2 separate regions of the Homo sapiens genome follow, and region 2 is linked to region 1. The links are contacts of gene promoters, found by promoter capture Hi-C in blood cells and fetal thymus (Javierre and others, 2016). All regions are on one chromosome and are shown on one strand. Each heading gives the region's core, a stretch centred on a gene start or on the middle of the fragment in contact. The rest is flanking DNA. Distances are from core to core; before and after follow the strand shown.

The links. The method cuts DNA at HindIII sites, captures the fragments that hold promoters and counts their contacts. A CHiCAGO score of 5 or more calls a contact.
Region 2: a fragment that was not itself captured here is called in contact with the fragment with the promoter of MTRF1L in region 1 in 1 of 17 cell types (neutrophils); the score reaches 5.5 in neutrophils.

What each region holds. Positions count from the first base shown.
Region 1 is chr6:153,000,434-153,005,478 of GRCh38, forward strand. MTRF1L (mitochondrial translation release factor 1 like) reads right to left here and starts at 2,276. Exons shown (of 7, transcript NM_019041.7): 1 at 1,994-2,276. The coding sequence starts at 2,252. RGS17 (regulator of G protein signaling 17) reads right to left here. Exons shown (of 5, transcript NM_012419.5): 5 at 4,026-5,045. RefSeq lists silencers at 2,024-2,083, 2,094-2,203 and enhancers at 2,433-3,433, 2,524-2,633. The HindIII fragment of the contact is 13,608 bases long and covers 1-5,045 here.
Region 2 is chr6:152,557,381-152,562,425 of GRCh38, forward strand. The region is part of intron 3 of SYNE1 (spectrin repeat containing nuclear envelope protein 1); the gene reads right to left. Among named protein-coding and RNA genes, the nearest start is that of SYNE1, 77 kb to the right of the region's middle. The HindIII fragment of the contact is 4,689 bases long and covers 11-4,699 here.

The sequences.
Region 1 (5,045 bases), core at 1,026-3,525:
GGACAGTGCAGCTCTAAAGGGTTTAGAATTAGGAGTTACTCACAGGCAATGGTAATATACTACTTCTTTAATTTCTCTTGAATATTATAAATCAACATATGTTTACTGGACACCTACCATGTGCCTGCCTTCCCCTTTGCCTATAAAGATGTTTATGGTTTCCCATTCTAAATGGGTCCTTTTCTTTTCAACCCTTTAAGTAGCTGCTTATTGTCACCCCTCTTTTCCCACCCAGATTTCTGGAGATAAAATGCCATTTTTATAACTTTTCTCCTGTTAACTCTAATTTACCTCTCAAGCTGTTACACTGGATTCTATAATCATATCAAGACCATTTTTATTCAAGTTACCAATGACAAAATTGCCAAATCTAAAGACTTATTTCAGTGTGAGCTGAAAAGGTTGTTTTACCTTTCTATGTCAGGTACTACGGATTTTTTTTTTTTTTTTTTTTTTTTGAGGCAGGGTCTTGCGCTGTCACCCAGGCTGGAATGCAGTGGCACCATCTTGGCTCACTGCAACCTCCACCTCCCGGGTTCAAGCGATTCTCCCACCTCAGCCTCTCAAGTAGCTGGGACCACAGGCACGCACCACCATGCCCAGCTAATTTTGCATTGTTTGTAGAGACAGGGTTTTGCCATGTTACCCAGGCTGGTCTCGAACTCCTGGGCTCAAGTGATCGGCCCACCTGAGCCTCTCAAAGTGCTGGAATTAGAGGCGTGAGCCACCACGCCTGGCCAAGGATCTCTTACTTCTTGAAATTTTCTATTGGCTTCTACAGCTTCATTTATTTATCTACTTCAGGGTCACAAAGCTCTGGCTGTTTTTTTCTTGACCTTTTATAGCCTTCTTCTCTGCCTGCTCCTCAAATACTGTGTATTTCTGGCCTTGTTAGACTTGTTTCTATCTTAACACATTTTCCCTGAGTGTTCTCATCTACTTCTAAGGTTTAATTTACCACGTACTGTATATCTCGAGAGCTCTCATATGATTATTTGGGCTCAATTTTTCTCCTATGTCAGTAATTTTTTCTCCTAGACTAGTACAGATATCTTTATTGGAATTCCTTTTCACAGGTATTTTTAACTTAATATGGCATTCAATGCAAAACTCATCTTTTTAAAAAATTCGGTCCAACTTTTATACTTTCATCTTAATTAACAGTACCACTCGTGCTGAAGCCAGAAACCTAAGACTTTTCTTAGAACTAACTCTCTCCCTCATCCTTCTCAGGGCATAAGCCACTAAATCCTAACTTGTTTCTCAAAATGTTTTGTGAGTCAGAACTATGCCTATCACCATTTCTTCTTTGGATTGTTTCAACTGCCTCCTCCCTGGCCTGTCAGCCACCAGCGTTTCTGGAGAATACTCCAATTTATCCTCAGCGCATGCCACCATTAACTTTTCTTTACAAAGACGTGAATTCTCTGCTTAAAAACATTTGCTAACTTTCCATGGTCTATAAAAAATAAATCCAAATTCTTTGTCTTGCAAGGTTCTTAACTATTTTTCTGGCTTCATGTTTCTATGACATCATCTCCCACCTATTCTATACTTAGGCCATACTGAATTTCCCAATTTAGTACCTTTACCCACGTATAGGTCTGAGATTCTGAGTCCTAAGTCTGCTATTAACAAGCACTGCCCTGATACTACTGCAAATGGGTCTCCACACCACACTTTGAGAAACACCGCTGTGGAGCCCATCACAGGGACAGTGCCTTATTTATCCTTGCTGAGCTAATGAGCTCTTGCCCGAGTCCACAACTAATAAGCATGTAAAAGGCGGCAGAGCGCCGTGGCAAAGGAGCACAAGAGAGCCCACAGGAGAGGATGGGATCACAGCACGTAATGATGTCCTGACCTCTGATCCAAAATAAAAACGGCTGCAAGTGAGTAAAGAGTTTCAAACTCGGGTAGTGTGGGCAGTGGAAAAGTCAAACGAAGAGTCAAGAATGTGCTCTGACGCCTCTCCCCCGGGCCCGACCCTTACCGTGCAGCAAGTGCTCAGTCTCCCGCAGCTCCCGCTCCTTCTCGTTCAGCAGTTTGATCACCGCCAGCAACTCGGGCCTCCTGACCTTCAAATGGGCTTCAGACCCCGCCTGGCGCTCGAGGAAGGTCCGCAAGGGCCCGCCCCGGGTGAACAGCTCCTCCAGCGGCGGGCTACCGGAGCTCAGGGGCCGGCGGGCTGGGCCAACGGCCCGGCGGGGCCAGAGCCACCGGGCAGCGCCCCACAGAACCCGGGACCGCATCCTTAGTCCGAGATCGCGGACCCTGACCGGAACCGGAAGTTCCGGACACAGCAGCCCTCGCGACAACACCCAGAATTTGGAGATAAGGGTGAGAGCGCACCAAGCCCCGCCCAGCGCAAGCGTTGCTTTTTAAAGGATTTTCCGGAAGCCTTGGCGGGAACTTCCTGCCAAGCGTGAGAACGCTGCGAACTTCCCGGAGGCCAAAAGTTGAGGGGGCTGAGCGGAGCGTGATTGGGGAGGGGCGGGCCTGGGAGACCTTGGGCGCCTCCTCTGAAAGCCTCTTGGTAGGTATCCGGTTGATGGGTGACGTGTTTGGCCGGAAAGGGAGAGCAGCAGATTGCCCCTCTGTTTTCTGATAGTGAGGATTTCTTTCCCATGCACTGAGTCGGGGCCTCCAGAGCCGCAGTGCAGGGCAGTCGAGGGTCCGCTGCAGGGCGGAGGTCACAGCCGCGCAAGTCGTCAGTCTCCGGTGCAGGGCTGCCGCTGAGTCTTCAAGAGCGAGTTTTATTATGGACAGGCGTGTGTTTATTCCTCCTCCTTTTTTCCTGCTTATGTTTCTCTTGTCCACGGTGGGTGAGGTTCGTGGTAATAAGGACTTGATAAGTGTATTATGAGATAACCACTGAATGAATTTGCACAATAGACGTGCGTGCCCTTCATCTGCCGCGTCATTTACTTGCTTTCAAAGGACTTTATTATTCACCTGCCCATTCATTTTCACTTAGTCCCACTTATCGTCAGCTTTTTAAAGAGGTGGAGTGATTCCGTGTTACAGCAACCTACAGCCCAACAAAGCCTTCAGATATCTGCCTCCAGGAGTCCAACCCTCATCCCTTTCCAAAGAACTGGTAGCGGATAGGTGCCAGCAATACCGACATTTATTGGCACAATGCTTTGCACTTTTCAAAAGACCTGTTCACAGCTCAACGGAGAAATAAATATGAGGGAATAAACACAACCAAGACAGTCCTGGGAATGCAAGGGCTAAACGCTCAATCTGAGAACTGCCACTACCTAACTGGTTTGGGCAGCGTCTACTAAGTGGTATTTCACTGTTGAGAGAGGTGATATATTAGAAGTACGAAACTTCTAATTTATTCATAAAAAATAAAATGGTAAAAAATGGGAACCCTTATCAAGGTTAAAATATCCTTAGGTCATCTAATCGAAACTGTTAAGTATAAACATTCTTAGAAAATAACGTTTGCATTGCCTCTCTCTTTTCATCTCTTAGCACGATAACAAATGCAGAGTGAGTGGAAGAATGAAATGACTCTTCAAACATCAGGAAGCAAAAATAGTTTTTTGCTACTTAAAGGCTCCACCTAATTATCTCAGTTCTTTTCACTTTGTGTATTCAAGCTACACAACTTTATACAATCGTTCTGCTGTTGAAACCCATTTTATTTTAATCCTGATCTGAGGATAGAACAGGACTGATCAGGATGTTTTTATCTCTATTAGAACAATTGTTTCCCAAGTCTGAACTTAACTTTGAATTTATCTTAACCATGGAAATGGTGAGAATCACTTGAACTCAACATGGTATATCTCTCAGTTGAGTTCTCAGAACATAAGTCATTTCAACAATATATTTTATTATTTATAAAAGGTGAAACATTTTAATAATTAAAACCTTATAGAACAATGTAAAGAATCTAGCCAGAATTTTATTTTCCCCCAAGTGCATAAGCAATTTAAGTAACACATAGAAGTGTACCTTTTATTCCTATAGTGTTATATACCAATGAGGAAACAGTAACTTTCTAAGGATACATTGTTGAATTCTTTATTAATTCAAAACATTTTAAGAAAGTCAGTGTAATGCATATGCATTTTACAATAACATCCATAGGTTTCCACAATCTAGTAAAATGAAAACAGCTGTATTTTGATTTACTTTGAAAACTCAAACCTATAGTTCGAGACTTCTGAATATTTTTACATTACTGTCATGCTCAAATTCTGTTACATGGTGAAAATTCTAGCATTTTCCAGAAGTATATTATTGTACATAGGTAAAATGATAAAATTGATTCTAGGAAGGGGGAAAAAAAAACCCAGAAAAACTTAAATTGGAGGAAACATAATCTGGATTATCTATTCAATTTGTGAATACCCACCGTTATTCTGGCATTGCAAAATAACCAAGTGTGGTGCCTCTTAAGTTGCATTCATGCATTCAAAACTTCTTTATTGTCCACTGATAAATATTGGTGGAGTACAATATATGGATATAGATTAAGTGTGATGAACATGGTAGTAAAAAATTATACACATTCGATATGTAATTTTACAAAACCAAACACATTGAATTCTTTTTAATATTTAGCAAACATTTAAAAATCATATACAAGAAAGGTGTTTATGACAAATCGGTTAAAGCTAGCGGGAAATAGGTCTTTTACATTATTTCAATATTCAGTGTTCATTGATTAGTGGAGGGCAATATAAAAATGCAATAAGCAAAATGGTTAGTTTAAATTTAAATTACCTCTTATGACAATTAGTAAGATAAGATCTTTAATATCCAAAGTATGTGGAGGATTATTGTAAATTGCGCAGACAGTTCAAGGGAAAAATTCACTTTCACCTCTATTAGGTGAATATTCAGGCTAAGACTTCTGGAGTTTTATTTTTCCACTTCACTGTATTTTCTTTATAGCATTTATTAGTAATCACTTAGTGGAACCTAATATTAGTGTTTAGAATTTGTTTAGCTCAGTGTAAATGTCCAGAAAATTTACCTTCAATATAATCTCTTTAAAAACGCATTACTTTACAGTGGAGAAA
Region 2 (5,045 bases), core at 1,105-3,604, 440 kb before region 1:
AGAAGAAGAAAGCTTGTTTAAAAAAAATAATGTTAGAAAACTTCCCAAATCTAGACTGGGAAATAAACATTAATATCCATGAATACCAAGAGCCCTAAAAAGATTAAACATAAAGAGATCTTCACCAAGATACATTATAATCAAATTTTCAAAAGTCAAAGACAAAAAATTTTGAAAGCAACTAGAGAAAAGTGATTTGTTATGTATAAGGGAAACTCCGTAAGATTACAAGCAGTTTTCTCAGTAGAGACTTGCAGGCCAGGAGAAAGTGGGATAATATAATCAAAGTGCTGGTGGGGGAAAAATACTGTCAACCAATAATACTATATCCAGAAAAGCTGTCTTTAAGAAATGAAGGAGTGATAAAGACCTTCCTAGATAAACAAAAACTGTGGATGTTAGTCCCTACTAGAACTACCTTACAAAAAATTAATGTTAGAGTTCTTTGAGTTAAAATAAAAGAAAGCTAATTAACAAAATGAAAATATATGAAAGTAAAATCTCATTGTAAAGGTAACATATAGTCAAATTCACAATATCCTAATACTGTAATGGTGCCATACAAGTCACTTTGATATAAAAGTTAAAAGACAAAAGTATTAAAGACAACTAAAGCTACAACAATTTGTTAATGGGTACACAATATAAAAAGATGTAAATTGTGACATTAATAATATAAAACATGGGGAGAGGAGAAGTTAAAGTGTAGTTTTTGTTTGCAGTCAAAGTTAAATTGTTACCAGCTTAAAGCAGACTATTATAACTATAAGAGGTTTCATGTAAGCCTCATGTTACCACAAAGAAAAAATCTGTAAGTAGATACATAAAGATAAAGGAATTAAAACATACCACCACAAAAAAAATCATCAGATCACAAGAGGATGGCAAGAGAGGAAGAACGGAATAAAGTAACTCCAAAATAGAAAACAACAGTTTGTCAGTACTGGGTCCTTGCCTACCAATAATTATCTTAAAAGTAAATAGACTAAATTCTTTAATCAAAAGACAAAGAGTGGCCAAATGGATTAAAAAGTATAAGATCAAACTATATGCTGCCTACAAGAGATTCACTTTAGCTTTAAGGAAGCACATAGTCTGAAAGTAAAGTTATGGATTAAGAAATTCCATGTAAATGGTAACCAAAGGAGAACAAGGATGGCTATCCTTATATCGCACAATGTAGATTTTAAGTCAAACACTGTCAAAAGAGACAAAGAAGATCATTATATAATGACAAAAGGATCAATTCATCAAGAGCACATAATAATGTAAGTATATATTTACCCAACATCGGAGCACCTAAATATATAAAATGAATGCTAACAGAATCGAAGGAAATAAACAGCAATATGATTAATAGTAGCAGATTTCAGTACTTCACGTTTGACAATGGATAGATCATCCTGACAGAAACTCAACAAGGAAACAATACATTTGAAGAACACTATAAACCTAAACAATGTAACAGATGTATATAGAATATTCCATCCAGCAACAGCAGAATACACATTATTTTCAAGTGCACACAGACAATTCTCCAGGATAGATAATATATTAATATATTAGACCACAAAACAAGTCTTAACATATTTAATTTTTATTTATTTATTTATTTATTTATTTATTTATTTATTTATTTATTTTTAGAGAGAGGGTCGCATCTGTTGCCTGGGCTAGAGTGCAGTGGCACTCACTGTTGCCTGGGCTAGAGTGCAGTGGCACTCACTGTTGCCTGGGCTAGAGTGCAGTGGCACTCACTGTTGCTTGGGCTAGTGTGCAGTGGCACTCACTGTAGCCTAGAACTCCTGGGCTCAAGCAATCCTCCCACCTCAGCCTCCTGAGTAGCTGCTGGGATTACAGCTGAGTGCCACAATGCCCAGCTAATGTTTTAAAATTTTTTTGTAGAGACAGGGTCTCACTGTGTTGCCCAGGCTGGTCTAGAACTCCTTACCTCAAGCAATCCTCCCACCTCAGCCTCCTAAAATGCTGTGATTACAGGCATGAGCTATTGCTGTCTGGCCTCTTATCATATTTAAGAAAGTTGAAATCATGTCTTCTCTTTTCTGACCACAAAAAAACATAAAACAAGAGATCAGTAATATGAAGAAAATTTGAAAATTCTCAAATATGTGGAAATTAAACAATTCATTGAACAATCAATGGGCCAAAAAATAAAAGGGAAACCAAAAAATATCTTGAGATGAATGAAAATGGAAATACTACCTACAAAAACTTAGGAGATGCAACAAAATAAGTTCTAAGAGGATGGTTTATAGTAATAAATGCCTACATTTTTAAAAAAAGAAAGATTTTAAGCAACCTAATTTTATACCTCAAGGAGCTAGCAAAAAGAGAAAGACTAAGCCCAAACTTAGGAGAAGGAAGGAAATAACAAAGATCAGGGCAGAAATAAATGGAATCAAGACTAGAAAACAAGAGAAAACAATCAATGAAACTAAGAGTTGGTTTTTGAAAAGATAAACACAATTACAAACTTTTAGCTAGACTAAAGAAAAGAGAGGAGATTCAAATAAATAAAATAAGAGATATTACAACTGATACTACAGAAATATAAGGGATCATAAGAGAATATATGAACAATTGTATATCAACAAATTGGATAATCTAGAAGAAATGGATAAATTCCAGACACGTACAATCTACCAAAACTGAATCAAGAAGAAATAGAAGGCTGGGCATGGTGGCTCACACCCGAAATCCCAGCACTGTGGGAGGCCGAGGTGGGCAGATCACTTGAGGTCAGGAGTTCAAGACCAGCCTGAACAACATGGTGAAACCCCATCTCTATCAAAAATACAAAAAATAAATAAATAAATTAGCTGGGTGTGGTGGCATGCACCTATAGTCCCAGCTACTCGGGAGGCTGAGGTGGGAGAATCGCTTAAACCTGGGAGGCAGAAGTTGCAGTGAGCTGAGATGGTGCCATTGCACTCCCGCCTGTGTGACAGAGCGAGACTCCATCTCAAAAAGAAAAATAAAAGAAGAAGAAGAAATAGAAAATCTGAGCAGGCCAATAATGAGGAAGGAGATTGAAGTAGTAAGAAAAAATCTTTCAACAAAGAAAATCCCAGGACCTGATGGTTTTATGTGTGAATTCCATCAAACATTTAAAGAAAAACTAATACCAATCTTTCCCAAACTGTTTAAAAAATTAATGAGAATGAACCACTTCCACACTCATTTTATAAGGCCAGCATTACTCTCATACTAAAGCCAGATAAGAATACAAGAAAAGAAAATTACAAGCCAATATCCCTGATAAACATAGACATGAAAATTCTCAATGAAACACTAGCAAACCAAATTCAACATGACCATGGTCGATGGGATTTATACCTGAGATTCAAGAATGGTTCACTATATGCAAATTAATCAATGTGATATACCATAATAATAGAATGAAAGATAAAAGTCGTATGATCATCTCAATAGATGCATGAAAAGCATCTGACAAAACTCAACATAATTTTATGATTAAAAACTCAAAAAATTAGGTACAGGAGGAATGTATCTCAACACAATAAAGACCACATAAGAAAAGCCTACAACTAATAGTATAGTGAATGGTAAAATGTTGAACATTTTTCCTCCAAGATCAGTGAAAAGACAAGGCTGCCCACTCTCACAGAGTGCTATGTTCTATTCAACATAACACTGAAATTCCTACCCAAATCAATTAAGCAAGCAAAAGCAATAAAAGGCATCAAAATCAGAAAGGAATACATAGACTTTTGTTTGCAGATGACATTATCTCAAATAGAGTAAACCCTAGACTCCACCAAAAAAATGGTTATAACTGATAAATTTAGTTAAGTTATAAGGTACAAAATTAACAAACAAAATTCAGTTGCATGTCTATACATAAACAATGAACTATCCAAAAAGACATTTTTTTCAAAAAATAAATTTTAAAAATATTCTATTCACAATAGCATAAAAAAGAATAAAATACTTAGGAGTAAATTTAACCAAGGAGATAAAAGATCTGTATAATGAAACAATAAAGCATTGATGCAAAAAACTGACAAGGCAAATACATGGAAAGATATTTCCTTTTATGGATCACAAGAATCAATATTGTCAAAATGTTCATATTACCTTAAATGATCTACAGATTCAATGTAACTCCTATCAAAATTCCAACGGCATTTTTAATAGAAATAGAAAAAAAAGTCCTAAAAATTGTATGGAACCATCAAAGACCATGAAGCAATTTTAAGGAAAAAGAACAAAGCTGGAGGCATATTTCCTGATTTTAAATTATATTATATAGCTATAGTGATCAAAACTGCATGGTACTGGCATAAAAAAACAATACATGGATTGGAACAGAAAGCACAGAAATAAACCCATATATAATATTCAGTCAATTAATCTTTGAAAAAGGCATCAAGAATACACAATGGAGAAAGACTGTCCCTTCAGGAAATGGTGTTAGGAAAACTGGCTATCCACATGCAAATAAGTGAAACTGGATCCTTATTTTACAACATACACACAAATCAACTCAAGACAGATTAAAGATTTAAACGTAAGTCCTGAAATCATAAATGTACTAGAAGAAAACATGGGCAAAATAGCTTCTTGATATTGGACTAGACAATGATTTTCTGGATATGACCTTATAAGCACAGCCAACAAAGCAAAAAGAGGCAAATAGAATTGCACCAAACTAAAAAGCTTCTGCACAGCAAAGGGAACATCAACAGAGGGAAGAGACAACCTAGGGAGTGGAGAAAATATTTGCAAACCACACAATTGATAAGGGATTAATATGCAAAATATGTTAGAAACTCAAAAACTAAATAGCAGAAAAACAAACAAAGAAAACGGGCAAAGGACCTGACTAGACATTTCTCAAAAGAATACATACGAATGGCCAATTACAAGAAAAAATGCTCGACATCACAAAACATCAGGGAAAGCAAGTTCAAACAACCATGAGACATCACCTCATGCATTAGGATGTATATTATCAAAATAGCAAAAGATAACAAGTGTTGGTGAGGATGTGGAGAAAAGGG